7 separate regions of the Homo sapiens genome follow, and all the other regions are linked to region 7. Evidence: promoter capture Hi-C in 16 types of primary human blood cells and fetal thymus (Javierre and others, 2016). All regions are on one chromosome and are shown on one strand. The core of a region is centred on a gene start or on the middle of the fragment in contact, and the rest is flanking DNA. Distances in the headings are between cores, read along the strand shown. Region 1 holds the start of RBM42 (RNA binding motif protein 42). Region 2 holds the start of HSPB6 (heat shock protein family B (small) member 6). Region 3 has its middle 12 kb from the start of ZBTB32. Region 4 holds the start of HAUS5 (HAUS augmin like complex subunit 5). Region 5 overlaps KMT2B (lysine methyltransferase 2B). Region 6 holds the start of ZNF792 (zinc finger protein 792). Region 7 holds the start of USF2 (upstream transcription factor 2, c-fos interacting).

Region 1 (3,743 bases), core at 691-3,190, 360 kb after region 7:
ATCTGAGCAAGCAAAAATTTAAGTTTTGACAGGAAAAAAAAAAGACAATCAAATGCAATATTTGGACCTTGTTTTGATCCTGATTCTACTATCGTATAAAGACATTTTTGAGACAAGGAAAACTGAACACGGTCTGGGTGTTAGATGATACTAAGAAATTAATTTGATGGTATTCATAATGGCATAGTTAATGGTATTTTTTTTTTCTTGACACTGAGTTTCACTCTATCGCCCAGGCTGGAGTGCAGTGACGCGATCTCGGCTCACTGCAACCTCTGTCTCCCGGGTTCAAACAATTCTCCTGCCTCAGCCTCCCGAGTAGCTGGAACCACAGGCGCACGCCACCACGGCCGGCTAATTTTCGTATTTTTAGTAGAGACAGGGTTTCACCATGTTGGCCAGGCGGGTTTCAAACCCCTGACCTCAGGTGATCCGCCCACCTCGACCTCCCAGAGTGCTGGGATTACAGGTGTGAGCCACTGAGCCCAGCGTTAATGGTATTTTTTAAAAATAGTTCTTATCGGCCGGGCCGAGATCGCGCCACTGCACTCCAGCCTGGGCGACAGAGCGAGACTCCGTCTCAAAAAAAAAAAAATAGTTCTTATCTGTTAAGGAGACATAATGGCGCATTTATGACTGAGTTGATGTCTGGAATTTGCTTTAACATACTCCAGCAAAAAAATATAAAAATAAGAAAAGTATAAGGCCATGCGCAGTGGCTCATGCCTGTAATCCCAGCACTCTGGGAGGCCGAGGCGAGTGGATCACTTGAGATCAGAAGTTTGCTACCAGCCTGGCCAACATGGTGAAACCCCGCCTCTACTAAAAATACAAAAATTAGCCGGGTGTGGTAGTACACACCTGTAATCCCAGCTACTAGGGAAGCTGAGGCAGGAGAATCCCTTGAGTCCAGGAGGTGGAGGTTGCAGTGAGCCGAGGTCACACTACTGCAATCCAGCCTGGGCGACAGAGCGAGACTCCGTCTCAAAAAAAAAAAAAAAAAAAAGAAGAAGGTACTTTGTAACATTCTCCCCGCCCTTGAGAATGTACTTTATAAGCCTATCCCAAACCTGTAAGAACTAATGATAATCCCACCACCCTTTGCTGACTCCTTTTTCGGACTCAGCCCGCCTGCACCCAGGTGAAATAAACAGCCTTGTTGCTCACACAAAGCCTGCTTGGTGGTCTCTTCACACGGACGCGCGTGACAAAGAAGTATAGATCAAGTGAAATCCAGAAGTGTTGAATATTGGTAGCGTTTGAGATGTACTTAAGAGTGCGTTATACTATTCCCCTTAATGTGCATGTTTGAAAATACTCAGAATAAAACACTTGTGAGGGCTACGGGAAAAAAAAAAGGGTCAGCTGTGGCCCAAGAAAGGACAGGGACCAAGCCCACGGACGTGCTCCTCTGAGTTGCACTAGTCTCTGGGCCTTGGCTCCCACCCTGAACAGCTCTCATCTTTAAATGTCTTCAGCTGTCCTCCTCCAGGAAGCCGGGTCAGGCGCTTCCTCCCGGGCGTCTCCGGTCTTCCTGGAAACCACAGGTCGGGTGTCAACCTACTCCAGGATAGGGGCCCCGAGGGGCCAGCCAGGCCTCCCAGCCTTGCCCAACCCTGGGGTTGACACGGACTTTAGCGTCTTTTTAAACTTCCGGCGCGGGCTCTGCGGTGGCACAGGAGGGTCCTCCAAACTTTCCTGCGATCTCAAAGGTCCAGATTCCACATTGGGGATGGGCCCAACTGACTTTGCTTCGCTCTCATTAGCCGGTGGTCCTCCAGGAAAGCGGGGCCGCCTCTCCGCTGTGCTCTCATAGGCCCAGGTTCTTGCGTTCGTGTGTCCTTCTCTCACTCTGATTGGCCTATATTCCCCCTGAGGGTGTGGCCAAATCTCATTGGCTCTCGCGCCCGAATGTATGACGTCATGCGCCAGCGCCCGTCGCTTTTGCTGGACGTCATCCTCGGGAGCCCACCCGGACGAAGGGGGAGAGTAGACAGCAGAACCAGCGGCGGCGGCTAAGCAGAGACTGTAGTAGCGGCGACAGCGACGACGGCAGCGATGGCTGGGGCGGGGCCAGCCCCGGGACTCCCGGGTGCAGGAGGACCCGTGGTCCCGGGTCCTGGCGCTGGCATCCCGGGCAAAAGCGGCGAGGAACGCTTGAAGGAAATGGAGGCGGAGATGGCCCTGTAAGGCCCGCGACAGAGAGTGATAAAAGTCGTCCCAGAGCCAGAGCCACCGAATCTCGGAGCCTCCAGGCCTCGATAGGCCGGAGATACGGCTCTAACATGGGGAAGTGGGACCTTCGGGATTGTGGGGGCGGGGATAGGGGAGAGGTTGGCAGGGGTGAGGGTCCCCTCGCGATATACCCACAGTTCCAAAATTGGTACGAGGTCCTGAGCGCTGATGTCTGTTCTACTCCTCCAGGTTTGAGCAGGAAGTTCTGGGGGCTCCAGTACCTGGAATCCCAACTGCTGTGCCTGCGGTGCCCACTGTCCCCACGGTCCCCACAGTAGAAGCGATGCAGGTCCCAGCGGCTCCTGTGATCCGCCCAATTATCGCGACCAACACATACCAGCAGGTACGGCTGAGCTAAGGCATGTAAGTCAGGGAACACAATGCCTCGAACAGAGTAGGTGTTTGTGTACAGAGAGCTGTTGACGTTTTGGCTTGTTGACTAATTAGCATGACAAATATTTTATATGCCAGGCACTGAGAACACAGTAATGACTGAGAGAGACATTTCTGCCCTGTGGGAGCTTATATTCTAGAACATGTTGTCCAGTAGAGCTTTCTGCAATGACGAGACTGTTCTGATATATTTAAAATTTATATTTAATAGTTCGTTATTCTCATTAGTCACATTTCAAGTGCTCAGTAGCCAACTATATATGACTAGTAGAGAAAGAGAGAGAAATTATTAAGATGAAAATAGGCTGGGCGCTGGGCGTGGTGGCTCACACCTGTAATCCCAGCACTTTGGGAGACCAAGGCGGGCAGATCACGAGGTCAAGAGATCGAGTCCATCCTGGCCAACATGGTGAAACCCCATCTCTACTAAAATTACAAAAATTAGCTGGGTGTGGTGGCACGTGCCTGTAGTCCCAGCTACTTGGGAGGCTGAGGCAGGAGAATCGCTTGAACCCAGGAAGCGGAGGTTGCAGTGAGCTGAGATTGCGCCACTGCACTGGAGCCTGGTGACAGAGCGAGACTCCGTCTCAAAAAAAAAAAAAAAGCCCTGAGGCAGGTGCATACCTGTTGTGTTGTTGTGTTCAAGGAACAGCAAGGAGACCAGTGACAGTGGAGTGAGCAAAGAGGAAAGTGGGAGGAGATAAGGACAGAGAGGTGAGGCCAAATCTTGTAGAGCCTTATGGCCATTTTAAGAACCCTGGTGGCCAGGCACGGTTGCTCACGCCTGTAATCCCAGCACTTTGGGAAGCCAAGGCGGGTAGATCACAAGGTCAGGAGTTCAAGACCAACCTGGCCAACATGGTGCAACCCCGTCTCTATTAAAAATACAAAAATTAGGCGGGCGTGTCGGCGGGCGCCTATAATCCCAGCTACTCCGGAGGCTGAGGCAGGAATATCACTTGAACCCAGGAGGCGGAGGTTGCAGTGAGCCAAGCTCGTGCCACTGCACTCCAGCCTGGACAATAGAGCGAGACTCCGTCTCAAAAAAAAGACTGTAAGGGACAAGGGCAGAAGCCAGGAGATGGAGGAAGGGGCTAGTACAGTAATCTAGACAG
Region 2 (3,667 bases), core at 863-3,362, 490 kb after region 7:
GTGGCTGGCTGGGGTTTCACGGCAGAAAATGGGCTGGAGGGGGCAGTTGTAGACTGTCTGGTTGCAGGGGAAGGATCGGGTCTTGGGAACCAGGCCTGGATGGTCTGGAGTGGGAGGTCTGTGCAGTCCAGGACGTTTGGGGGGTGGGGGGATTGTGCCTGACTGGCCTGGGGTTGGGGGAGGGCTGTCTACACCATAATTTGGTGTCAAAATAGGGAAGGGATGGAAATGTAGTACCCGGATGTCTTTGTAGAGGACTCAGAAGGAAGTAGAGGAGGGGTCTTAAGTGGGGCTATATGCCAAGAAAGTGGGTCGGTGGGGCTGAGACTGTCGGCTGAGGGTTAGGGTAGTGCTGGTAGGGTCTGGAAGCCGGGGAGTTGTCGGTGTGGGGTCGGAAAGCTGGAGGGGGTGTGAGAGCGAGGGTGTCAGTGGAAGGGTCTATGTTATCAAGGCAGTGTCCAGGATGGAGGTCAGGGCAGAATCCAGGAGTGGGTGAGAGGACAGTCCTTGGCGCACTCGGGACATCTGGCTGGGCGGAGTCAGATCGGCTTTAATAGAGGGAGCCTGAGGAGGCTCCCGGGGTGCGGGCGCGGCCCAGCCCCCTCCTACTTGGCTGCGGCTGGCGGTGGGGCCTGGGCCGACGCTGGTGCGGCCTGGATGGACAGGACGCCCTCGGGGGACAGCGCGGACGTCACGGCAGCCGGATCCACGCCAGGCGGCAGGCGGTAGCGACGGTGGAACTCGCGCGCGACGAATCCGTGCTCATCCTGGAGGGGAGGGAGGCTTGAGCGGCCCCGCCCCTCCGGCCCGGCGGCGAGCGTACCCGCTCCAGCCCCGCCCCACGCCGCGGCTCACCGGGCGCTCCTCGTGGCGCGCGTGCACCTCCACGTGTTCGCCCACCACCTTGACAGCAATTTCCTCCGGCGAGAAGTGCTTCACGTCTAGCAGCACCGAAAAGTGGCCGGGGTCCGTCGGCACCTGAGCGCAGCGGGCGCGGGCGGGACTGTCATTGGGCTGGGCCAGGCTCCAGGACCCACCCAGGGAGACCCCACCCCCGTCGGTTCCGTGCCGCGGCTCACTCTGGCCTCCGGAGTTGAGCAGTCAGCTCTCCTACTGGGAGTCACCCAGGACCTCTTCACCCTGAACAACAGGGATACGCCCTCCCCCTGTAATATCTGGGATTGCCCTCTCCCCCGCAGTGATGAGGCTCCCTTCCCCTGCAAGGTCAGGAACCTCTGCCCTCCCCCGGTGTCAGCGAATCCGAAGTCATCGTGCCCCCCAGGGCACTGATTCCCCAGCTCCCTCCTCAGAGCCCCGGGTCCCTTCTCCGCCAGCCCCGCCAAACTCGCCAAGATGCCCCTTTCCCCGTCTCCAGGGTCCTCTGCCTACTCTCCCACTCGAGTCACGGGACCTCGGCAGCTACTGGTAGCCTTCCCCCACTTCAGAGTGGCCGGGAACCCTTCCTCAAGTCGCAGGGCCCTCTCCCCTCCTCTTCTGGAGATATCGGGCCACCGCACACAGTCTCTCAACTCTTCCCCGAGACTAAGAACATTCCTTCCCCTCAGGAGTCACTGCCCGCCTCCTTTTCCCCAGATTTCCCGGATCACCAGCCTCCTTCAGAGTAAGCAAGACTCCCCTTAGAGTGACCCAGGCCTTCCATTCTCTGGAGAGCTGAGAGCCCCCCACCCCGCCCCCCACCTAAGAGCGACGGGGACCTCCCACCCGCTGCAGTGTGCGGGCCTCAGATTCCCATTGACTCCGGAAGCCCTTCGGAGCTGCGGACTCTCCACCCCGCCCAAGGCCAACGAACATTCTCTCACATGTTCCCACCCCAGGCTGCCCCAGACCCCTGGCAATGGAAGTGGTCGAGTTCACCCCTCCCCAGGCCTGGCACCTGGGCGACGGGCAGCGCCACGCTGGGTGCGCGCAGGTAGTAGGGGGCGAGCGTGGTGGGGCAGAGCGCAGCCAGCTCGGCCTCCAGCAGCCCCTCGCCGAAGCGCTGGTCAAAGAGGCGTCCGGGCGCCGAAAGTCCGGGCAACGGGGCCGAGGCGCGGCGCAGCCAAGACGGCTGCACAGGCACAGGGATCTCCATCCTGCTCCTCCGCGTTGCAGTGCCCCTGCGTGCGCAGCCGCTCATTTATAGTGCGCCCTGTGCCGGCCCCTCGGAGGGCTGCCCAGGGACACTGGGACCGTGGCCAGACCCGGCCATTAGGAGAGCCTTATTTAGAAACCCAAACAATGACTTGGCCATTTATTAAGCGCCTGCTGGATGCCTGGCAAATGCTGTCAAGAAGGTGACATGAAGATTCCCCAATTTCCAGAAGAGGAAACTAAGGCTGAGGAGGGGGAGCCTTGCGGGTGTGGGGAGCACAGCGTGGTGATTGGGGCCCAGGACCCAAGAGGCCCACGGAAGAGTTTCCAGTCCCTTTAATCCACTGCCTCCCCCCTGGCAGCTCTGAGGATGACGCAGATGGAGGTCTTTAGGAGCAGATTCCTGGAGAATGCGGTAGCCCCGCCAGGATGTCAGGAGGACATAGAACAGGCCCTCCCTACCCTTATCCTCAGCCAGACCTTGGGCCCAGTCCCCCGGCAGGCCGGGCCTAATTCTGTGCCTCTGACTCAGCCTCTGGTGCGCAGAGGCCAGGGGGCGCGAGCATGAACAGTTCAGGCTGGCCCCCCGGGGGCCGCGCGCTGGGGCTGGAAATAGCTCATTTTGATCCCGCTACCTCGGCCAGGAGCCCAGACCTGGCAACTGATGCAACCAGCTGCTCCTGCAGCAAGAAAGAAGTTAGATGACCGTTGGGACGGACTGATTGGCCCAACTGATGGAGGAATAGCGGTTAGAGAGAGGGCAGAGCGCGCCCCCCCCCCAACCCGCCCCACTGCCCCTGCAACAGAAAGAATGGTAGTTAGACCGGGGTCGGGACAGGACTTCTGCAGCAAGAAGGCGCTTAAAAAGCGGGACTTTTAAGCGAGGGTACTTTAGATCACCTCCTAACCGCAAGCCCAGCCTCAGATCCTTCCCATTGGTGCACGGTCTTGCCAATTACTGCTACACTCGGCAGGTTCTCCAATCAAACACGCCCTGTCGGGCAGGCAGTCGTCCCAGCCAATCCTGAAACACCTCCCTCCGGGTACTTCTGTTTCCTCTCTTTCATTGGTCGCCTTGGAGGCCGCTCGCCTCCGGCGCGGGCACAGAGAGGGGCGGGGCTGATAGGGCGTTGCTAAGCGACGGAGATGCGCGCGGGGCCTGTTGGGTGAAGGAGCAGAGCGGCCGGAAGCGCGGAGGGAGCCGCGGGATGGACCGCAGGTGAGGCCGATCGCTCTTCCAGGGACTACAGGAGGCTGGGGAGGACCAACGGCGAGAGCAGCACAGCCTAGGACGGGCTGGATACGGTCTGGAGTCGCTAGGGCTCCACCGCACTGGAACTACAATTCCCAACATGCTCCACAGCCGTTGGCCTCTCCAGCCGTAGCCGTTAGCATCCCGGGGGTCCCCTAAGAGTCTTATGTTCCTCTCTGAGTGGGCCCCAAGGAATTATTGCCTCTAAAGGTGTCCAAGAAAGGCTTGAGATCTGAATTTCTTCATTTTGAAATGGCCCCCAGACACGCCTGGGCGTTGTCTTTGAACTTTCTCGCGGAGGCGGAGCCCAGTGGATCCTGGGGC
Region 3 (3,556 bases), core at 879-3,378, 420 kb after region 7:
CAATCCCTGAGCTAGACACAAAGGTTCTCCATGTCCCCACTAGATTAGCTAGATACAGAGTGTCCACACAAAGGTTCTCCAAGTCCCCACCAGAGTAGCTGGATACAGAGTGTCGATTGGTGCATTCACAAACCCTGAGCTAGACACAGGATGCTGATTGGTGTGTTTACAAACCTTGAGCTAGATACAGAGTGCCGATTGGTGTATTTACAATCCCTGAGCTAGACATAAAGGTTCTCCACCTCCCCACCAGACTCAGGAGCCCAGCTGGCTTCACCCAGTGGATCCCGCACTGGGGCTGCAGGTGGAGCTGCCTGCCAGTCCCACGCCGTGCGCCCGCACTCCTCAGCCCTTGGGTGGTCGATGGGACTAGGTGCCGTGGAGCAGGGGCGGCGCTCGTCGGGGAGGCTCAGGCCGCACAGGAGCCCACGGGGTACGGGGAGAGGGGAGGCTCAGGCATGGCGGTCTGCAGGTCCCAAGCCCTGCCCCGCGGGAAGGCAGCTAAGGCCCGGCGAGAAATTGAGCACAGCAGCTGCTGGCCCAGGTGCTAAGCCCCTCACTGCCCGGGGCCGGCGGGGCCGGCCGGCCGCTCTGAGCGCGGGGTCCACCGGGCCCACGCCCACCCGGAACTCGGCGCTGGCCCGCAAGCACCGCGCGCAGCCCCGGTTCCCGCCTGCGCCTCTCCCTCCACACCTCCCCGCAAGCTGAGGGAGCCGGCTCCGGCCTTGGCCAGCCCAGAAAGGGGCTTCCACAGTGCAGCAGCGGGCTGAAGGTTCCTCAAGTGCTGCCAAAGTGGGAGCCCAGGCAAAGGAGGCGCCGAGAGCGAGCGAGGGCTGTGAGGACTGCCAGCACGCTGTCACCTCTCAGTAAGACAGGTCAGGGCTGGGCACAGTGGCTCACGCCTGTAATCCCAGCATTTTGGGAGCTGAGGCAGGAGGATTGCTTGAGGCCAGGATTTCCAGACCAGCCTGGCCAACATAGTGAGACCTCATCTCTCCAAAAAATTTAAAAATTAGCTGGCCATAGTGGTGCGCACTTGTAGTAACCGCTAGTCGGGAGGCTGAGGTGGGAAGATCGCTTGAACCCAGGAGGTAGGGGCTGTAGTGAGCTGTGATGGTGCCACTGCATTCCAGCCTGGGCAATAGCAAGACCCCGTCTCAATAATAATAATAATAGGCCAGGACTTGCTAGATGGGAGGCCGGGGTTTGACCTGACCTCTGACCTCTGGGCAGTCAGGTAGGTAGGCCGCCATCTCTGACCCACATCTGCCACTTGGCTTTCGGGCTCCATCCTACCATATACCTGCAGAGTGTGGCTCAGTCAGACCGGCAGCAGCGTGGCCTCACCCAGGCGGGCCTGCCTGCAGGACAGGTTTGTCCGCCCCAGCCCCCAAACTCAGAGGCCGGCTCCTGTGGGTAAGAGGGGAGCAAAGAGGTCAGGGCTATGTCAGGGCCCGGACCCCTTGAGGGACAGGCAGCCATTTGATGGCTGTTCCCCCCACACCCCAGGTGACTGCATCCCTCCTCAGCCTCTAACCCTCCACGGCTCTCCAGCGCCCTCCTCACCTCGCACTGAGGGCCCGTGTGGCTTGGCCCCTTGCCACCTCTCCAGGTATCTCTTTCTCTCTCTTGCTCCACTGAGCCAAGCTCTCTCTCTCACCATCTGAGATCACAGAATGGAAATAAGAAACTGTGTTATATAGCAATCAAGCCAGGCACATGCCTCTGACTACATCCACTTTTGCTTACACTCCTTCCATGAGGGCAAGTTGGTTCTTTTTTTTTTTTTTTAACTAAAACGTAAAAACACACACCCCTGCCCTTTCCTCAGGTGTCCCACGCCCACCAATTCCTCCTCTCTGGTCCCCGCGTCCTTGGCTGGTGTTAGAAAAATGGCTACAAGCTTCCTGGGAATCAGATAATAAAGCTTACAGGAACTCTTCCCAGATTTAAAAGAGCTTAATAAATAAATAAATAAAGCTTACCTTCTAGAGGGGAAAATAGATAAAACCAATAAGAAAAACACATGTTAGAGGCTAATAAGTGCTAAGGAGAAAAATAAAAGAATGAAAGACAAAACAAAAACCTAGCCGGGCGGGGGGGCGCGGTGGCTTACGCCTGTAATCCCAGCACTTTAGGAGGCCAAGGCGGGAGGAACGCTTGAGGAGTTCGAGACCAGCCTAGGCTACATAGTGAGACCCTGTCTCTACAAAACAATAAAAAAATTTTTAAAAATCGCTGGCCATGGTGGCAAGCACCTGCATCACAGCTGCTCAGGAAGCTTAGGCAGGAGGATCACTTGAGTATGGCAGTCGTCGCTGAAGTGAGCCAAGATGGCACCACTGACTCTGTCAGCCCAGATAACAGTCTCAAAAAAAAAAAAAAAAAAAAGATGACTGGGCATGGTGGTTCACACTTGTAATCCCAGCACTTTGGGAGGCTGAGGCAGGCAGATCACCTGAGGTCAGGAGTTCGAGACCAGCCTGGCTAACATGGCGAAACCCTGTTTCTACTAAAAATACAAAAATTAGCTAGATGTGGTGGCATGTGCCTGTAATCCAAGCTACTCAGGAGGCTGAGATAGAAGAATCACTTGAACCTGGGAGGTGGATGTTGTAGTGAGCCAAGATCGTGCCACTGCACTCCAGCCTGGGTGGCAGAGCAAGACTCCATCTCAAAAAACAAAAACAAAACAAAACAAAGCAAAAAACGGTGAGAGGGCCTGGTGCCCCCTCTGGAATGTTTTTCATTGTCTAGGTTTGACACTGTGCTGTGCCATCACGTGTGGGGCTGGGGAAAGTGCAGATTCCGGGGCACACGCCTGCCCTTGGAGCAGGGATGGAGTCAGCTCCATCTATAGGGTCTGGTCTGGGAGGAGGGAGAGGGTGCTTGCCCAGAGCAGGCTCAGACCCTAAGCCTGAGCCTAGGGAAGGGTGAGCCGACCCTGGAGGCAAATGGACCACAATCCCCCCTCCCCATCAACCTTCACCAGCGATTCCGGGATAAATGACACAGACAGCACTGAGAATTCCATGGTAGTCGTTATTATTACTGTTGTTTTTATTAATAGCAGGGGCCCCATCACTTACCTGTGGGTTATCAATTTATTACCTCTCAGTTCCATTTGTCATCTGGTGCCAGGTTAGGCTTTGTCAATAGAGGGCGCTGGAGAGCCACTGAGGAGCCAGGGCCCCTCTGCCTCACTCCAGGGCTTTGTGTTCTTCCTACTGCGCTGTGACCAGCAGGTGGCTGCTATGCTCCACATTATAGGGAGTGACCTCCACTGCCACCCTCTCCTCCTTCTCCCTCCTCCTCCTCCCTCCTCCTCCCTCCTCCTTCTCCCTCCTCCTCTTCCTTCCTCCTCCTCCTCCCTCTTCCTCTTCCTCCCTCCTCTTTTCTTTCATCCCTCTTCCTTTCTCCTCCTTCTTCCTTCTCCTTCCTTCACCCTCCTCCTCTTCCCTCCTCCTTTTTTCTCTTTCTCCTCCTCTTTCCTCCTCCGCCTTCTTCCTCCTCCTCCTCCTTCTTCCTACCCCTTCTCCTCCCCCTTCCCCTTTCT
Region 4 (3,845 bases), core at 989-3,488, 340 kb after region 7:
GATTCCTGGAAGCTGGTGGGCATGCTATCCTGGGGCCATCTGAACTGGGAAAAGCTGTGTGAGTTCTTGGGGGCCAGCTTGTAGCCTTTTTGGCTGGGGCCAGGTTGAAGGTCTTCCTGGGAACCAGAGTCAAGAGCGGCCACTTACATTAAGCGGATAAAGCCCACGACTTTCTTGAGCTGCTTGACAGCTGTACCAAAAAGGCACAAACCCATTGAGGATATTATGAAACATGAATACAGATGATTATTTTATTTTGGTTTGGTTTTGTTTTGGCTTTGAGACAGGGTCACCCAGGCTGGAGTGCAGTGGTGCCATCATAGCTCACTGAAGCCTCAACCTCCCAGGCTCAACTGATCCTCCTGTTTCAACCCCCCAAGTAGATGGGACTACAAGCGTGCACCACCACGCCTGGCTAATTTTTTTTAATTTTTAATAGAGACAAGGTTTTGCTGTGGTGCCCAGGTGGGTCTCAAATTCCTAGCCTCAAACATTCCTCCCACCTCAACCGCCCGAAGTGCTGGGATTACAGGCATGAGCCACCACGCCCAGCCATTGCCTTATAATTTTTTACTGATGTCAGATATTGTTAATTTTACAGTGTTGGATGCTGGATTTTTTTTAATCTCTATAAATATTCTTGAATTTTGTTCTGGAATGCAGCTAAATAATAGCTTGATCCTTTCGGGCCTTGCTTTTAAGCATGGTTGGTTAGTCAGCATCAGAGAAGTATTTCATCTAGGGCAGGGGCAGGGGTCTCCAAACCCCAAGCCGTGAACCAATACAAGTCCATGGCCTGTTAGAAACCAGGCTGCACAGCAGGAGGTGAGTGGCGTATGGGTGAGCATCACTGCCTGAGCTCCACCTCCTGCCAGATCAGGAGCGGCATTAGATTCTTACAGGAGCGCAAACCCTATTGTGAACTGTGCATACGAAGGATCTAGATTGCGCACTCCTTATGAGAATCTAATGCTTAGGCGGGGCATGGTGGCTCACACCTGTAATGCTAGCACTTTGGGAGGCTGAGATGGGCTGATCACTTAAGGTCAGGAGTTCAAGACCAGCCTGGCCAACATGGTGAAACCCCGTCTCTACTAAAAATACAAAAATTAGCTGGGCATGGTAGCGGGCGCCTGTAATCCCAGCTACTCAGGAGGCTGAGGCAGTAGAATCGCTTGAACCCCGGAGGCAAAGATTGCGCTGAGCCGAGATCGGGCCACTGCACTCCAGCCTGGGTGAAAGAGGGAGACTTCACCTCAAAAAAAAAAACAGGGAAGAAAAAAAAAAAGAGAGAGAGAGACAGAGAATATAATGCCTCACGACCTGAAGTGGAACAGTTTCATCCCGAAACCATCCACTGCTCCCACCCTCCATCCCCCAGACTGTGGAAAAATTGTCTTCCATGAAACCAGTCCCTGATGCTCAAAAGGTTGGGGACTGCTGGTCTAGCGCAGACCTCTCACACCTGCTGTGTCCCAAATTGACCCACCCCTGCTGCTTATTTTTACCACCCCTACCTGGTGGTGCGTCTGTCTCCCCACTCAACTGTGAGCTCCGTACAATAGGGACCAGGGCTGTTGTGGTCACCATGGTGTCCCCAGCATCACCCAGCACAGGGTCAGCTCCCTGAGTTTATGGAATGGTAAGCACGAATGAATGGGAAAACGCATGCCAGGGAAATGTTAGGGTCATGCTCTCTGCCCCTACCCTCCACTCAGACATGAGACACCTGTTTCTGAAATCAAAGAGCAGTAAGTCCAGGATCTCATTGCCTGGTTCCAGTCCTCCTAGGACGCAAGTCCCATTTTGTCAAGAAAATAAAGGGGGTGAGCGTGGTGGCTCACGCCTGTAATCCCAACATTTTGGGAGGCCGAGGCGGGAGGATCGCTTGAGCCCAGGAGTTCAAGAGCCCAGAAGCTGAGACTAGCCTGGGCAACAAGTGAGATCCCATCTCTATTAAAATAAAAGTGTTTAGTTAAAAGAAGAAAAAGAAAATAAATGGAAGCATCAAGGACTGTTTTGCCTCTTTCGGGTTAGCTGGTAGTGAGCGGGAGAACGAGGGAAGGCGGGCGGGGCTGCAGTCTCTCCACGCCCTTTTCATTTCCACTCAAGGAGACCTACCTGGGAAGAGTGAGCGCTGCAAGACCCAGCCTGACCGCGCTAAGATTACTATGCAGCGCCCGAGCCCGCTGTCTGCCCGGCAACCGATGACGTCACTGTTGGCGCGCCCGTGACGTCAGAGGCGGGCGCCACACTTGAAGAGGCTGAGGGAGGCGGTGTCGCCGCCGCGGCGCTGTCATGGAGCTAGCGCAGGAAGCGCGGGAACTGGGTTGCTGGGCGGTCGAAGAGATGGGGGTGCCCGTGGCGGCCCGGGCCCCGGAATCGACGCTGCGCAGGTGAGGACCGCTCCTGGAGTGAGGACACCCCACCCTGGAGATTGAGTCTCCGGGAGTGAGAACTCCACCCCTCATTGAGGACTCGACTCCCCCCAATTCCCCATCGAGAGTGACCCGACTTACTGAGGGCTCCCTACCCTGGGAGGCTCCCCAGAGTGAGGTCCCTAGCACTGGTGAGGATCCTCCACGAGTTAGCTAAGACCTCGCTCCTTATGGAAATAGGATCTCCAGAGTGAGGCTGTCCCCGCAGCACCTCCCCTCCCTCCCTTAACCTAACCAAGAAGGACACTCAGGAGTTAGCCGTGGCCACCCCATCGGGGATTGAAGCTGTAGGAGTGATGCCCCACGTCTGGTCATGAGATGGCACTTCCTGGCAGTACATCCCCCACCTCCACCTCTGGATGTGACTGGGATAACCCACTCCCAGGAGAAAGGGAGCACCCGCCTCTCCCGCGCTCCCCCACCACCCGCCTTCCCAGGGAATGAGAATAACACCACACTTAGTGCAAACATCCAGTCCCTACAAAAAAAATGTTTTACCAATTAGCCGGGTGTAGTGGTGCCTGCCTGTAGTCCTAGCTACTCTGGAGGCTGAGGTGGGAGGATCGCATGAGCCCAGGAGGTTGAGGCTGCAAGGAGCTATGATCGTACCACTGCGACAGAGCGAGACTGTCTCTTAAAAAAAAAAAAAAAAAAAAGGCAAAAAAAAGTTTGGGCCTTCCCTCCTCAAGAAGTGAGAACTCCCTAGTAAAAACTCCCTACCACCATCACCCTAGGAATGAGGATCCCACACCCTGTGTGCTGCCCCAGGCATATGCTTACACACTGTCCCCACAGGCTGTGTCTGGGCCAGGGGGCTGACATCTGGGCCTACATCTTGCAGCATGTGCACAGTCAGAGGTAAGCTGGGCTAGAGCAGGGGAGGGGGCACAGGTGAGGCCCATAGTAACTCCTCTTTCTGCCTCTGCACTGTAGGACTGTCAAGAAGATCCGGGGAAACCTACTCTGGTAACTGCTTCTTAAAGCTATCCCCTCCTGTCTTCCCCACTCCCATTTAGCCCTGTCCCCACCACAGCATCACACCTATTGCCCTCCCCCCTAGAAGCCCCACTCATCCGCTGACTCTGGCCTCGTTTTCCTAGGTATGGCCACCAGGACAGTCCACAGGTGAGAAGCATATGCTACAAGATTCTCTTTCATCCGAAAAATGACTTGTAGATCTTCTGCTCTAAGCCCAACCAGGTGCTGGGTGATGCTGGGGACAATGGGTCACAAGACAGCCTTGATCTCCATCCTCATAGGGCTTAAAGTCCAGTGGAAACAGCATTAGCTCAGCCAGGTGCAGTGGCTCACACCTGTAATCCCAGCACTTTGGGAGGCTCACCTGAGGCCTCATCTCAGGTGATGAGATCACCTGAGGGCTCCAGGAAGCGATCAGTACTGGGACAA
Region 5 (3,846 bases), core at 1-2,500, 460 kb after region 7:
CTCGGACTGCGAGGGACGGCTCTTCCCCATTGGCTACCAGTGAGCGGTCGGGGTGATCCATGGGGCCAGGGGACTCCATAGCTGGATCCCATTTCCCAAGCATCCTAACCGTCTTATCCCACATGCCAGGTGCTCCCGTCTGTACTGGAGCACAGTGGATGCTCGGAGGCGCTGCTGGTATCGGTGCCGAATTCTGGAGTATCGGCCATGGGGGCCGAGGGAAGAGCCAGCTCACCTGGAGGCTGCAGAGGAGAACCAGACCATTGTGCACAGCCCCGCCCCTTCCTCAGGTGTGGCTTTGGCTCTGTCTTCTTCCTGAATACCGCTCTCCCTAAACAAACCTACAGATCTCTGTTCCCCGCTCCCTTTTGGAAAGTCCAGGAGGCTTGCTTTTGCTTCAGTTGCTGTAATGTAACGGCAGCTCGCTTACTGCCATGCCTTGTGTGCCAGGGGCTGTGCCCGGCTTTTCATGGGAAGTGAGGTGGGGAGAGCGGCACGCTGCCTACTTGAGGTGGGGTACTGGCTTTTGGACGACTGCAGGGAGTAGAGTGCTTACAGCTCCCTAACTTGGGGCACTGTGCTCATGGAGCGCTCTCCAGTGTCGCCATACTACACCTTGAAGGGGACAGTGGCTGAACACAGTAACATGCTAGGGAAGCTGGAATTGGAACTGCATCTGCTCAGCTCCCAAACCGGCCCCCTTACAGCCACACTGGCTGTGGGATGTGGCTGAGAGCTGGATGGCACAGGGCAAAGAATGGGCTTGGAGATGGGGGAGAGGTTATTGTGGGCAGAGCAGGAGGCAGAAGAGATTTGGATGGTAGGAAGGGCTTTATTCCAGGTTGGAGCATGACAAGAAGTGGACAGAGGAGGAGGGTACACCCATCCCGTCTGGAAACCAGGGAGTTTTGGGTGGAGGAGGGAGATCAGTTTGCAGAGGTTGGGTGGAGCCAGGTAATGGAGAGCCTCCGGGCCGGGGCGGGCGGGAGCGTCTGATGTGGCTTGGATGCACCAGGCAAGTAAGAAAGTGGTAGGACTGGCCGTGCTGGAGGGAGGGCAGTTCCCCATGGCGTGCAAAGCCTGCAGCAGAGGCAGAGAGGAGATGGCAAGGAGCGAGTGGGGAGAGGCCCTGAAGGCCCCCTGGCCCAGGTGTGTGCAGGTTTTGCCAACTCCACGGTGGGTTTAGCCTGGGTGGTCACTGGAAACTGGGGCCTGTTGTGACTGGGTCAGGGTCGGGGACCTGGGAGGCATAGTGGCTCAGGATGAGAGCATGTGGGCAGGCTTTGACACAGAGCCCCTACCACCCCAATGCCATTTCTCGCCTCTTCAGAGCCCCCAGGTGGTGAGGACCCCCCACTGGACACAGATGTTCTTGTCCCTGGAGCTCCTGAGCGCCACTCGCCCATTCAGAACCTGGACCCTCCACTGCGGCCAGATTCAGGCAGCGCCCCTCCTCCAGCCCCCCGTTCTTTTTCGGGGGCTCGAATCAAAGTGCCCAACTACTCGCCATCCCGGAGGCCCTTGGGGGGTGTCTCCTTTGGCCCCCTGCCCTCCCCTGGTGAGCACCGGGCATGTGGGGGTTGGGGGTGGAGCCGCGGAGGTGGGAGCTGCTGGTAACACCAACCCTCCCCCCACAGGAAGTCCATCTTCACTGACCCACCACATCCCCACAGTGGGAGACCCGGACTTCCCAGCTCCCCCCAGACGTTCCCGTCGTCCCAGCCCTTTGGCTCCCAGGCCGCCTCCATCACGGTGGGCCTCCCCTCCTCTAAAAACCTCCCCTCAGCTCAGGGTGCCCCCTCCTACCTCAGTCGTCACAGCCCTCACACCTACCTCAGGGGAGCTGGCTCCCCCTGGCCCGGCCCCATCTCCACCACCCCCTGAAGACCTGGGCCCAGACTTCGAGGACATGGAGGTGGTGTCAGGACTGAGTGCTGCTGACCTGGACTTCGCGGCCAGCCTGCTGGGGACTGAGCCCTTCCAGGAAGAGATTGTAGCCGCTGGGGCCATGGGGAGCAGCCACGGGGGCCCGGGGGACAGCTCCGAGGAGGAGTCCAGCCCCACCTCCCGCTACATCCACTTCCCTGTGACTGTGGTGTCCGCCCCTGGTCTGGCCCCCAGCGCTACCCCTGGAGCCCCCCGCATTGAACAGCTGGACGGCGTGGACGACGGCACTGACAGTGAGGCTGAGGCGGTGCAGCAGCCTCGGGGCCAGGGCACGCCTCCTTCGGGGCCAGGAGTAGTCCGGGCAGGGGTCCTTGGGGCTGCAGGGGACAGGGCCCGGCCTCCTGAGGACCTGCCATCGGAAATTGTGGATTTTGTGTTGAAGAACCTAGGGGGTCCTGGGGATGGAGGTGCTGGCCCTAGAGAGGAGTCACTCCCCCCGGCGCCTCCCCTGGCTAATGGCAGCCAGCCCTCCCAAGGCCTGACCGCCAGCCCAGCTGACCCCACCCGCACATTTGCCTGGCTCCCAGGGGCCCCAGGGGTCCGGGTGTTAAGCCTTGGCCCTGCCCCTGAGCCCCCCAAACCCGCCACATCCAAAATCATACTTGTCAACAAGCTGGGGCAAGTATTTGTGAAGATGGCTGGGGAGGGTGAACCTGTCCCACCCCCAGTGAAGCAGCCACCTTTGCCCCCCACCATTTCCCCCACGGCTCCCACCTCCTGGACTCTGCCCCCAGGCCCCCTCCTCGGCGTGCTGCCCGTGGTCGGAGTGGTCCGCCCTGCCCCGCCCCCGCCACCCCCTCCCCTGACGCTGGTGCTGAGCAGTGGGCCAGCCAGCCCGCCCCGCCAGGCCATCCGCGTCAAGAGGGTGTCCACTTTCTCCGGCCGGTCCCCGCCAGCACCTCCCCCATACAAAGCCCCCCGGCTGGATGAAGATGGAGAGGCCTCAGAGGATACCCCTCAGGTTCCAGGGCTTGGCAGTGGCGGGTGAGTGCGGGTGCTGAGGCTGGCAGAGCAGGCAAGGGGGCAGATGGGCGGGAGATGCGGCTCATCCTTCTCGGGCTCGCCCTCCCAGGTTTAGCCGTGTGAGGATGAAAACCCCCACAGTGCGTGGGGTCCTTGACCTGGATCGGCCTGGGGAGCCCGCTGGGGAAGAAAGTCCTGGGTGAGTGGCCAGGCCCCTCTCCCTGGAGGGTCTGGGACCTCTGTCCTTCCCCTTCCTGACAGGTCTCTTCTCGCAGGCCCCTCCAGGAACGGTCCCCTTTGCTGCCACTTCCGGAAGATGGTCCTCCCCAGGTCCCCGATGGTCCCCCAGACCTGCTGCTTGAGTCCCAGTGGCACCACTATTCAGGTAGGGACCGGCCTTGCCCTCTCCCTCCTTGCCTGTGCCTGGCTCAGCTGGGTGACTCACAGATGCAAAATCAGCCCTCTTTCAAAACCAGTATCTACTCCCAGGGGCCAAGCCTGAGGCTCGGTGCTAGAGTTAGAGATGACCTTGGGGAGCCTCTGGCCTTGTGGGAGAAACAGACATGGAAATGACATTTCGCCTCTACGTGGGATCCTTTTAAGGGTCTTTGTCCAGCATGCCCAAGAGCCTAGGGGAGGGCCTCAGAGCCTAGCCTGCCAGGAGCTGAGAGAGAGCTTCCTAGAGTAGCCAAAGGTGAAGTTCTAGGATCATCTAGAGGGAATGCAGCCCAGCTAGCACCGAGATGAGGGTCAGGGACAGTGGGAAGATCAGAAGAGTGGTGTCCCAGAGGCCCAGGGAAGGGAGTCGTCACATCTCAGCTGCCACAGAGACTGCCAGGCCTGTGGAGTCTAGCGTTGGTGTCCAGTGAGAGCAGGTGGCACAGGGTGGGGCGTTGTGTCCAAGTCCAGAATTGAGACCATGGTTGAAGAAGGCAA
Region 6 (3,900 bases), core at 318-2,817, 300 kb before region 7:
GGTTTCCTGGGCAGGTTCTGGGGCAGAGTTCTATTTGTATACATGATCTGGCCATTGTTCGAATGAATATCCAGTCTCTCATTACCTTAACAACTCCCTCAGAACACCCGAACTGTGTGTTCAGCGGCCCACTCTTCAACTCCATTTGGGGGTCTCTGGGACATCACAGGCTCAACTTGGCCAAAACCTAACTTCTACTGCTTCCATGGAAAATTCCTCCTAAAACCAACTTCTCAGTTCATAAAGCTGGATTCATCAAACCAAAAACCATGGATTCTTCCCTCCTCTTTCTCACCCTCCACATCGGAAAATTTGGTCAGCTTGACTTAAAAGACATCAAGTTCCCAATCACTTCCTCTACCTCCAGTCCTCACTCTGGTCCGGCCAGCCGCAGCACTGGCCTGGGCTATTCCATTAGGCTACTCCTTGGCATCCCTGCTTGCGGCTCACTCCATATTCAGTTCTCCACTGTGCATCCACAGGGAGCCTGTTAAGACCTGAGTCACAGCATCTTCCTCCTCTGCCCTAAACCTTCCATGGCTCCCAACACCCTCAGAACAGAGGCCCAGCTCTGCCGTTCTGAGCTGTCTTCAGCCCACCTGCTCTCTGGTTCCAGCAGACATAATATTAATAACACTGACCTGGGTGGGGTTCCTTGAACACTCCCAACTCAGTCTCCACACCGTGCCCCACCCCACCCCCAAGCTTTTGCGCACGCTGGTTCCTGTGCCTACAAAGCCCTTTCTCCCTCCATCCCATTACATTTCAGCAACGGAAGCCACTTTATATAAACCCTGCCCTGATTCAGGATCCTAGCTGGGAGCAACTCCCTTCCAGGGTCCCCTGACTCAAAAGCAAGGAAATGGGAAAGGCGAAAAGTCCTAGAACAAAGCCATCTTTTGCGTCTCAACACCGAGAACAGAAGCGTGGGGGGCCGACAGCGAAGGGCCTAACGTCCAAGCACTCACCTGCGCGGGGTCCCGCAGCGCCGCCGCTGCCATCGGAGTCTGTGGTCAGAGCAGGGCCCCACGGTGCGGGAAACCACGGGGCGGGGGTAGGGGGTCTCGCAGGCTGAGGCTACCACCCACCTGGCCGTGCCCCAGACGAGGTGTGACCCCGGGCTGAGGGTCGCACTCCTAGCCTCAGTCTCCCCCGTGCAAAATGCGCAAGGGGCCCGGGGCGCAGGCTCCGGGGGCGCCGAGAGCGCGCAGCTCCGCTGGGTACCCCCGTTGCAAGGGGTCACGGCTGGTGCAAAGGCGCGGAGGGGGTCCCGGCCTCACTGTCCCCCTCGCGGTCCGGGAAAGCCGGCGGGGCAGCTTCACGGGCGTAGCCCCAGCCGCCCCGCCCCCAACTCGGGGTCCCCAGCTCCTGGGGACTCAGCCTCCCCGCCGGGAAATGACCTGCGAGGCTGCAGTGCAGGAAGTTCCGGCCCCCACCGTGGCGGCCGGGAGAGTTGCCCTCTCCCGTACTGTCATTGGCCTGGCGCCAGCCGCTGGTGCACAGGCAGGGCCTGGGGATCGCGAGTTTCTGCCCAGCCTCTCGTCAGGCTGAGGGTCCAGGGCGGGAAGGAGAGCGGATCTCGTCGGGTCTCCACCGCCGCCGCCTGCAGCCCTCGGGCCTTCCCCTTAAAGGGGCCGCTCCCGAGCCTGCAGCCGCCCGCGCTAAACCCCGCCCACCCTCCGAGGTCCAGGAGGAGAGCCCCAGTGCTCTTCCTGCGCGTGTGGGCATCGGCCAGCCGCTTCACCCCTAAGGGACCTAAATTCACACTGGAAAATGGGGATAGTACCCAATGGGCGGGGTCTTTGCGTTGTAATATTAAATGTCGCTCTGATTCAGGGCTTCTCAAACCAGCAACATCAGCATCACCTGGGGACTGGCTGAAAATGCAGGTTCTGGGGCAACAACTTAAATCTAAGGACTCAGAAATTCTGGGGATGGGATTCAGCCTTCTCTACTTTTTGCGGGGGGGGCGGGGGGGATGGGTCTCGTTCTGTTGTCCAGGCTGGAGTGCAGTGGCCTGATCATAGCTCACTGCAGCCTCCATCTCGGGCTCAAGCTATCCTCCTGCCTCAGCCTACCAGGTAGATGGGATACAGGCGTGCACCATCATACACAGCTAATTTTAAAATTTTTTGTAGAGACTGGATCTCCCTGTGATGCCTAGGCTGGTCTCAAACTCCTGAGCTCAAGTGATCCTCTCACCTCGGCCTCCCAAAGTGTTGGGAATTGCAGGAGTGAGCCATGGTGCCAGGCCTCCTTCTCTGTTTTAACAAGCCCTCTGGGGACTCCAATGCTGGCTCCAACTTTACAGCAGGGACTCTCATTGAAATCCAGTAAATAAAATGGGAAAAATAACACTACATTGTTGCAGGAAGTCAGGGACCCCGAACGGAGGGACCTGCTGAAGCCGTGACAGAAGAACATTAATTGTGAAGATTTCATGGACATTTATTAGTTCCCCAAATTAATACTTTTATAATTTCTTATGCCTGTCTTTACTGCAATCTCTGAACATAAATTGTGAAGATTTCATGGACATGTATCGCTTCCCCAATCAATACTCTTGTGATTTCCTATGCCTGACTTTACTTTAATCTCTTAATCCTGTCATCTTCGTAAGCTGAGGATGTATGTCATCTCAGGACCCTGTGATGATTGCGTTAACTGCACAGATTGTTTGTAGGGCATGTGTGTTTGAACAATATGAAATCTGGGCACCTTAAGAACAGGATAACAGCGATTTTCAGGGAACAAGGGAGATAACCTTAAAGTCTGGCTGCCTGTGGGACGGGCAGGACAGAGCCATATTTCTCCTATTACCAAAAACGGGTAAGAGAAATATCGCTGAATTCTTTCCCCAGTAAGGAATATTAATAATTAACAGCCCTGGGAAAATAATGCATTCCCAGGGCAGTGCCTCTAAAATGGCTGCCCTGGGAGTGTCTGCCTTATGCACATGTAGATAGGGATGAAACACACCCTAGTCTCCTGCAGCGCCCCCAGGCTTGCTAGGATTAGGAAATTCCAGCCTGGCGAACTCTAGTCAGACCAGTTCTCTGCTCTTGAACCCTGTTAAGATGTTTATAAATGACAATGCGTGCACAGCAGGACATGGAAGCTCATGAGTGATTCTAGTTTTGCCCTGACCTTGTGATCTCGCCCTGACCTTCTGCCTTGTGATCTTTTGTTGCCCTTAAAGCATGTGATCTCTGTGACCCACACCCTATTCGTACACTCCCTCCCCTTTGAAAATTGCCAATAAAAACTTGCTGGTTTTATGGCTCGGGGGCATCACGGAACCTGCTGACATGTGATGTCTCCCCCAGACACCCAGCTTTAAAATTTATCTCTTTTGTACTCTTTCCCTTTATTTCTCAGACCAGCCGACACTTAGGGAAAATAGAAAAGAACCCACATTGAATTATCGGGGGTGGGTTCCCCCGATACTACATGTCATATGGTGAAACCACCTTTGTAAAAATTATAACTGAGAAAATTATGACAGTGAGAGATCTGACCTAACCAACTCCATCTTGCTTCTAACCTCCAAGCTGTCCTTGTTCGTTCCTGAGCATAGGCCTAACTAACTTTGGGAGAAACTCAGTTTACAGTTTAACTTTGAAGCAAAGATAACAGCCCTTTCCCTCTAGGCCGGGCATGGTGGTTCACCCCTGTAATCCCAGCACTTTGGCAGGCCGAGGCAGGCGGATCACGAGTTCAGGAGATCGAGACCATTCTGGCTAACATGGTGAAACCCTGTCTCTACTAAAAATACAAAAAATTAGCCAGGTGTGGTGGCGGGCACCTGTAGTCCCAGCTACTCAGGAGGCTGAGGCAGGAGAATGGCATGAACCCCGGGAGGTAGAGCTTGCAGTGAGCTGAGATCGCCTCCAGCCCGGG
Region 7 (3,512 bases), core at 511-3,010:
GTGGCCACTCCCCCCGGAGTCCCAGGGGATGGGACCAGGAGCCCGCCAGGGAGCAGGCAGGCGGGGGCTGGCGGGCCAGGCGGCCCCGGGCCCGCTCCGTGGACGCCCTGGACGACCTCACCCCGCCGAGCACCGCCGAGTCAGGGAGCAGGTCTCCCACGAGTAATGGTGGGAGAAGCCGGGCCTACATGCCCCCGCGGAGCCGCAGCCGGGACGACCTCTATGACCAAGACGACTCGAGGGACTTCCCACGCTCCCGGGACCCCCACTACGACGACTTCAGGTCTCGGGAGCGCCCTCCTGCCGACCCCAGGTCCCACCACCACCGTACCCGGGACCCTCGGGACAACGGCTCCAGGTCCGGGGACCTCCCCTATGATGGGCGGCTACTGGAGGAGGCTGTGAGGAAGAAGGGGTCGGAGGAGAGGAGGAGACCCCACAAGGAGGAGGAGGAAGAGGCCTACTACCCGCCCGCGCCGCCCCCGTACTCGGAGACCGACTCGCAGGCGTCCCGAGAGCGCAGGCTCAAGAAGGTGAGGGCCGCCCTCCCTGGCGTCCAGACCGTCCCTGGGCCCCCAGCCGGTCCCCGCGGCTCATACCCTTCTTTCTTTCTCCCTTGCAGAACTTGGCCCTGAGTCGGGAAAGTTTAGTCGTCTGATCTGACGTTTTCTACGTAGCTTTTGTATTTTTTTTTTTAATTTGAAGGAACACTGATGAAGCCCTGCCATACCCCTCCCGAGTCTAATAAAACGTATAATCACAAGCTCTGGAGAGAACCATTTGTTCGGCCGCGCGGGGCGGGGGACCGGGGCTGCTCCCGTATGCGTCTGTAAAGCGCCGCGTCCCGGGGGCACCGGAGTCCGGGGCCGGGAGGAAGAGACCCAGCCTGGCCCGGCCCGCGCCCGCGCCGCCGGCCGGAGAACGTGCCCCGCGCAGCCGCCGCCCGCCTGCGTGCGCGCCCCGGCCCCGCCCAGGCGTGCGCATGCGCCCCGGCCCTCCGCCTTCGCGCACCGCAGGCTGGCCGTCCGGGACGCGCGCGCGCTCCTCTCCCCTTCCAGCCCATCCCCCCCAGCCCCCCACCGACCTACTTTACTGTCTCCAAACTCGGGCAGCCCACCTGGCCCCCGACGACCCCAGCCCCTGCACCGGGTACCCCGACGTTCCATCCAGACCCGCGTTTCACCAGGGCGGCGCGCGGCGACCTCGCGCCCCGCGGAGCCCCGGGCTCGCGCGCGCCCGCCCGCCCCCGGAGACAGACCAGCGCGCGCGCCCCGGGCCGCCTCCCCCCAGCGCGCGTCCGCCCCGGGGCTCGCGCCGCCGCCGCCGCCGCCGCCGCGCGCGCGCAGCTCAAGTAAAGGAGGAAAAAAAAAAGGGGGAAAAATAGAAAGCGGCGGCGGCTGCAGCAGCGATCCGCCGCCGGACTGGGCCAAGCCGGGCGGCGGCCGCGCGAGCCGGCGATCCAGGGCACTGGCGGCGGCCAGCCAGGGCGGGCCGTGTTCAAAAAAAAAAGTCGCGGCGGCGGCGGCTGCTCAGGGAAGGAGGCCTGAGGGCCGCGTGCAGCGGGCGGGCAGCTGGGTGGGCTGGGGGCGGCCGCGCGGCGTCCCGGAGCCTCGGGCCGCCCGGAGCCGGCGGGCGGGCGGAGGCGGAGGCGGCGGCGGCTGCAGCGGCTGCAGGAGCGGCGGCGGCTGCGGCGGCGGCGGCGGCATCTCCTCCTCACATGACCCCACTGTTTGTCCCCGTGATCAGCGCGAGCGGCTCCCGTATCTCCTCCGTCCCCTCCTGCCGCGCGGCGTGAGCGCCGGGCTCGGGGCCCCCCCGGCCGCCCGCCCCCTCCCCTCCCTCCCTCCCCTCCCCTCCCCTCCCCCCCGGGCCCCGCGCCCCCCCCGCCCCCGCCCCCCCCATGGACATGCTGGACCCGGGTCTGGATCCCGCTGCCTCGGCCACCGCTGCTGCCGCCGCCAGGTAAGATCCCCGGCCCGGCCGTGCCCCCGCGCCCCGGCCCCGGCCCCGGCCCCGCGGCCTGCAGGCCGGGGCCGCCATGATCCCGAGCGGCCGCGGGCCCGGCTCAAAATGGAGGCCGCCGGCGCGGGGGGGACCTGGCGCCTCCCGCCCCCGGCCCCCGGCCTCGGCGGCGCCCCCGGCCTCAGGCGCGGCCGGGTGGGACTGGGGCCCTGCAGCTGGGCGCGGGGGCGGGGGCGCGGGCGCGGGCCGCGCTGACCCTGCTCCCTCCTGTGCCCCTGGCAGCCACGACAAGGGACCCGAGGCGGAGGAGGGCGTCGAGCTGCAGGAAGGTGAGTGCTTGCCGGGCCGGCCGCGCCCGGGGAGGGCTGGGGGCGCTCGGCGCGGCCCTGACCGTGCCCCGACCCTCCTCGGCCCCAGGCGGGGACGGCCCAGGAGCGGAGGAGCAGACAGCGGTGGCCATCACCAGCGTCCAGCAGGCGGCGTTCGGCGACCACAACATCCAGTACCAGTTCCGCACAGAGACAAATGGAGGACAGGTGAGCGGCGGGCCGCGAGGGCGAACGGGCGGGCGGGCGGGCGCGCCGGGAAGGCTCGGACCTGGCCCCAGCGCCGGCCTCGCCGCTCTGCCGCCCCCTGCAGGTGACATACCGCGTAGTCCAGGTGACTGATGGTCAGCTGGACGGCCAGGGCGACACAGCTGGCGCCGTCAGCGTCGTGTCCACCGCTGCCTTCGCGGGGGGGCAGCAGGCTGTGACCCAGGTGGGTGTGGACGGGGCAGCCCAGCGCCCGGGCCCCGCCGCTGCCTCTGTGCCCCCAGGTCCTGCAGCGCCCTTCCCGCTGGTAGGTGCCCTGCCACCCCTGGGTGGGGGGGGGAGGGAGTGGAGAGGGGACACTGGCTCTGCTCTTGGGGAGCCCCGGGGGTGGGGCAGGTGTCGCCCAGCGGATGCTGCCTTCAGGCCTCAGGCTGCATGGGGCCAGATCCCTGTTGTGCACCGTGAAACCTGGGGACAGTGCTCTTGGAATTTTTTTTTCCCGCAAAATGGGAATGATGTGTCTTAAGAGGAAAGTTTCTTAGAGTGCGAAACGGATTTGCTCAGCAAGTGATCGCTGACCTCCCGCCATGTTCCAGGGCTGTTTGAAACACAGGACAGAATGCTACACGCAGAAGGAGTCCCCACTCCTGTTAATTGCAGAGAATGCAGTAAACCCCAAGCACAGCAATGAGGGGACGGGATGGAGGAACAGAGAAAGCTAAGGGTAGCCTCTGCCCTCCTACTCCCCAGGCTGTGATCCAAAATCCCTTCAGCAATGGTGGCAGTCCGGCGGCCGAGGCTGTCAGCGGGGAGGCACGATTTGCCTATTTCCCAGCGTCCAGTGTGGGAGATACTACGGCTGTGTCCGTACAGACCACAGACCAGAGCTTGCAGGCTGGAGGTGAGGAGTAGAAGTCAGATTGGCAGGTGGGGGAGGCAACGGGCCCAGCAGGGAGGGAAGCCCCCCCAGCCAGTTCTGACTTCACCCTGCCTTGCCACTAACCCCCCACTCTCCCT

Evidence for each region. Contacts are between HindIII fragments. The CHiCAGO score rates a contact against its expected background, and 5 or more counts as called.
Region 1: a contact is called between the fragment with the promoter of RBM42 here and the fragment with the promoter of USF2 in region 7, in 1 of 17 cell types (neutrophils). The highest score is 6.2, in neutrophils.
Region 2: a contact is called between the fragment with the promoter of HSPB6 here and the fragment with the promoter of USF2 in region 7, in 1 of 17 cell types (neutrophils). The highest score is 5.3, in neutrophils.
Region 3: a fragment that was not itself captured here is called in contact with the fragment with the promoter of USF2 in region 7 in 1 of 17 cell types (neutrophils); the score reaches 6.3 in neutrophils.
Region 4: a contact is called between the fragment with the promoter of HAUS5 here and the fragment with the promoter of USF2 in region 7, in 1 of 17 cell types (neutrophils). The highest score is 7.1, in neutrophils.
Region 5: a fragment that was not itself captured here is called in contact with the fragment with the promoter of USF2 in region 7 in 1 of 17 cell types (neutrophils); the score reaches 5.7 in neutrophils.
Region 6: the fragment with the promoter of ZNF792 here is called in contact with the fragment with the promoter of USF2 in region 7 in 1 of 17 cell types (neutrophils); the score reaches 6.0 in neutrophils.

Annotation. Positions count from the first base shown.
Region 1 is chr19:35,627,096-35,630,838 of GRCh38, forward strand. RBM42 (RNA binding motif protein 42) reads left to right here and starts at 1,941. Exons shown (of 10, transcript NM_024321.5): 1 at 1,941-2,186; 2 at 2,425-2,578. The coding sequence starts at 2,059. RefSeq lists enhancers at 911-1,438, 1,364-1,603, 1,752-2,046. The HindIII fragment of the contact is 21,053 bases long and covers 1-3,743 here.
Region 2 is chr19:35,754,917-35,758,583 of GRCh38, forward strand. It overlaps HSPB6 (heat shock protein family B (small) member 6), which reads right to left and starts at 2,113. Exons shown (of 3, transcript NM_144617.3): 1 at 1,895-2,113; 2 at 856-978; 3 at 1-767. The coding sequence starts at 2,092. The coding sequence ends at 606. PROSER3 (proline and serine rich 3) reads left to right here and starts at 3,260. Exons shown (of 11, transcript NM_001367856.1): 1 at 3,260-3,310. The coding sequence starts at 3,300. RefSeq lists enhancers at 2,365-2,936, 3,265-3,504, 3,545-3,604. The HindIII fragment of the contact is 14,255 bases long and covers 1-3,667 here.
Region 3 is chr19:35,690,758-35,694,313 of GRCh38, forward strand. No RefSeq gene overlaps it. Among named protein-coding and RNA genes, the nearest start is that of ZBTB32, 12 kb to the right of the region's middle. The HindIII fragment of the contact is 301 bases long and covers 1,979-2,279 here.
Region 4 is chr19:35,610,497-35,614,341 of GRCh38, forward strand. It overlaps HAUS5 (HAUS augmin like complex subunit 5), which reads left to right and starts at 2,239. Exons shown (of 19, transcript NM_015302.2): 1 at 2,239-2,396; 2 at 3,234-3,296; 3 at 3,372-3,404; 4 at 3,539-3,563. The coding sequence starts at 2,299. HAUS5-DT (HAUS5 divergent transcript) reads right to left here and starts at 2,168. Exons shown (of 2, transcript NR_186318.1): 1 at 2,122-2,168. RefSeq lists enhancers at 1,973-2,528, 2,117-2,376. The HindIII fragment of the contact is 7,658 bases long and covers 1-3,845 here.
Region 5 is chr19:35,730,578-35,734,423 of GRCh38, forward strand. KMT2B (lysine methyltransferase 2B) reads left to right here. Exons shown (of 37, transcript NM_014727.3): 25 at 1-39; 26 at 130-290; 27 at 1,331-1,558; 28 at 1,638-2,931; 29 at 3,020-3,109; 30 at 3,186-3,295. Among named protein-coding and RNA genes, the nearest start is that of IGFLR1, 10 kb to the right of the region's middle. The HindIII fragment of the contact is 6,974 bases long and covers 1-3,846 here.
Region 6 is chr19:34,962,662-34,966,561 of GRCh38, forward strand. ZNF792 (zinc finger protein 792) reads right to left here and starts at 1,568. Exons shown (of 4, transcript NM_175872.5): 1 at 969-1,568. The coding sequence starts at 1,001. It overlaps LOC124904699 (a long non-coding RNA gene), which reads left to right and starts at 765. Exons shown (of 2, transcript XR_007067236.1): 1 at 765-1,012. RefSeq lists silencers at 910-959, 1,070-1,329. The HindIII fragment of the contact is 6,406 bases long and covers 704-3,900 here.
Region 7 is chr19:35,267,202-35,270,713 of GRCh38, forward strand. USF2 (upstream transcription factor 2, c-fos interacting) reads left to right here and starts at 1,761. Exons shown (of 10, transcript NM_003367.4): 1 at 1,761-1,962; 2 at 2,245-2,291; 3 at 2,380-2,498; 4 at 2,602-2,802; 5 at 3,246-3,396. The coding sequence starts at 1,901. LSR (lipolysis stimulated lipoprotein receptor) reads left to right here. Exons shown (of 10, transcript NM_205834.4): 9 at 1-533; 10 at 623-763. The coding sequence ends at 658. RefSeq lists silencers at 542-621, 702-771, 872-1,021, 2,180-2,369, 2,510-2,829 and an enhancer at 3,117-3,512. The HindIII fragment of the contact is 13,161 bases long and covers 1-3,512 here.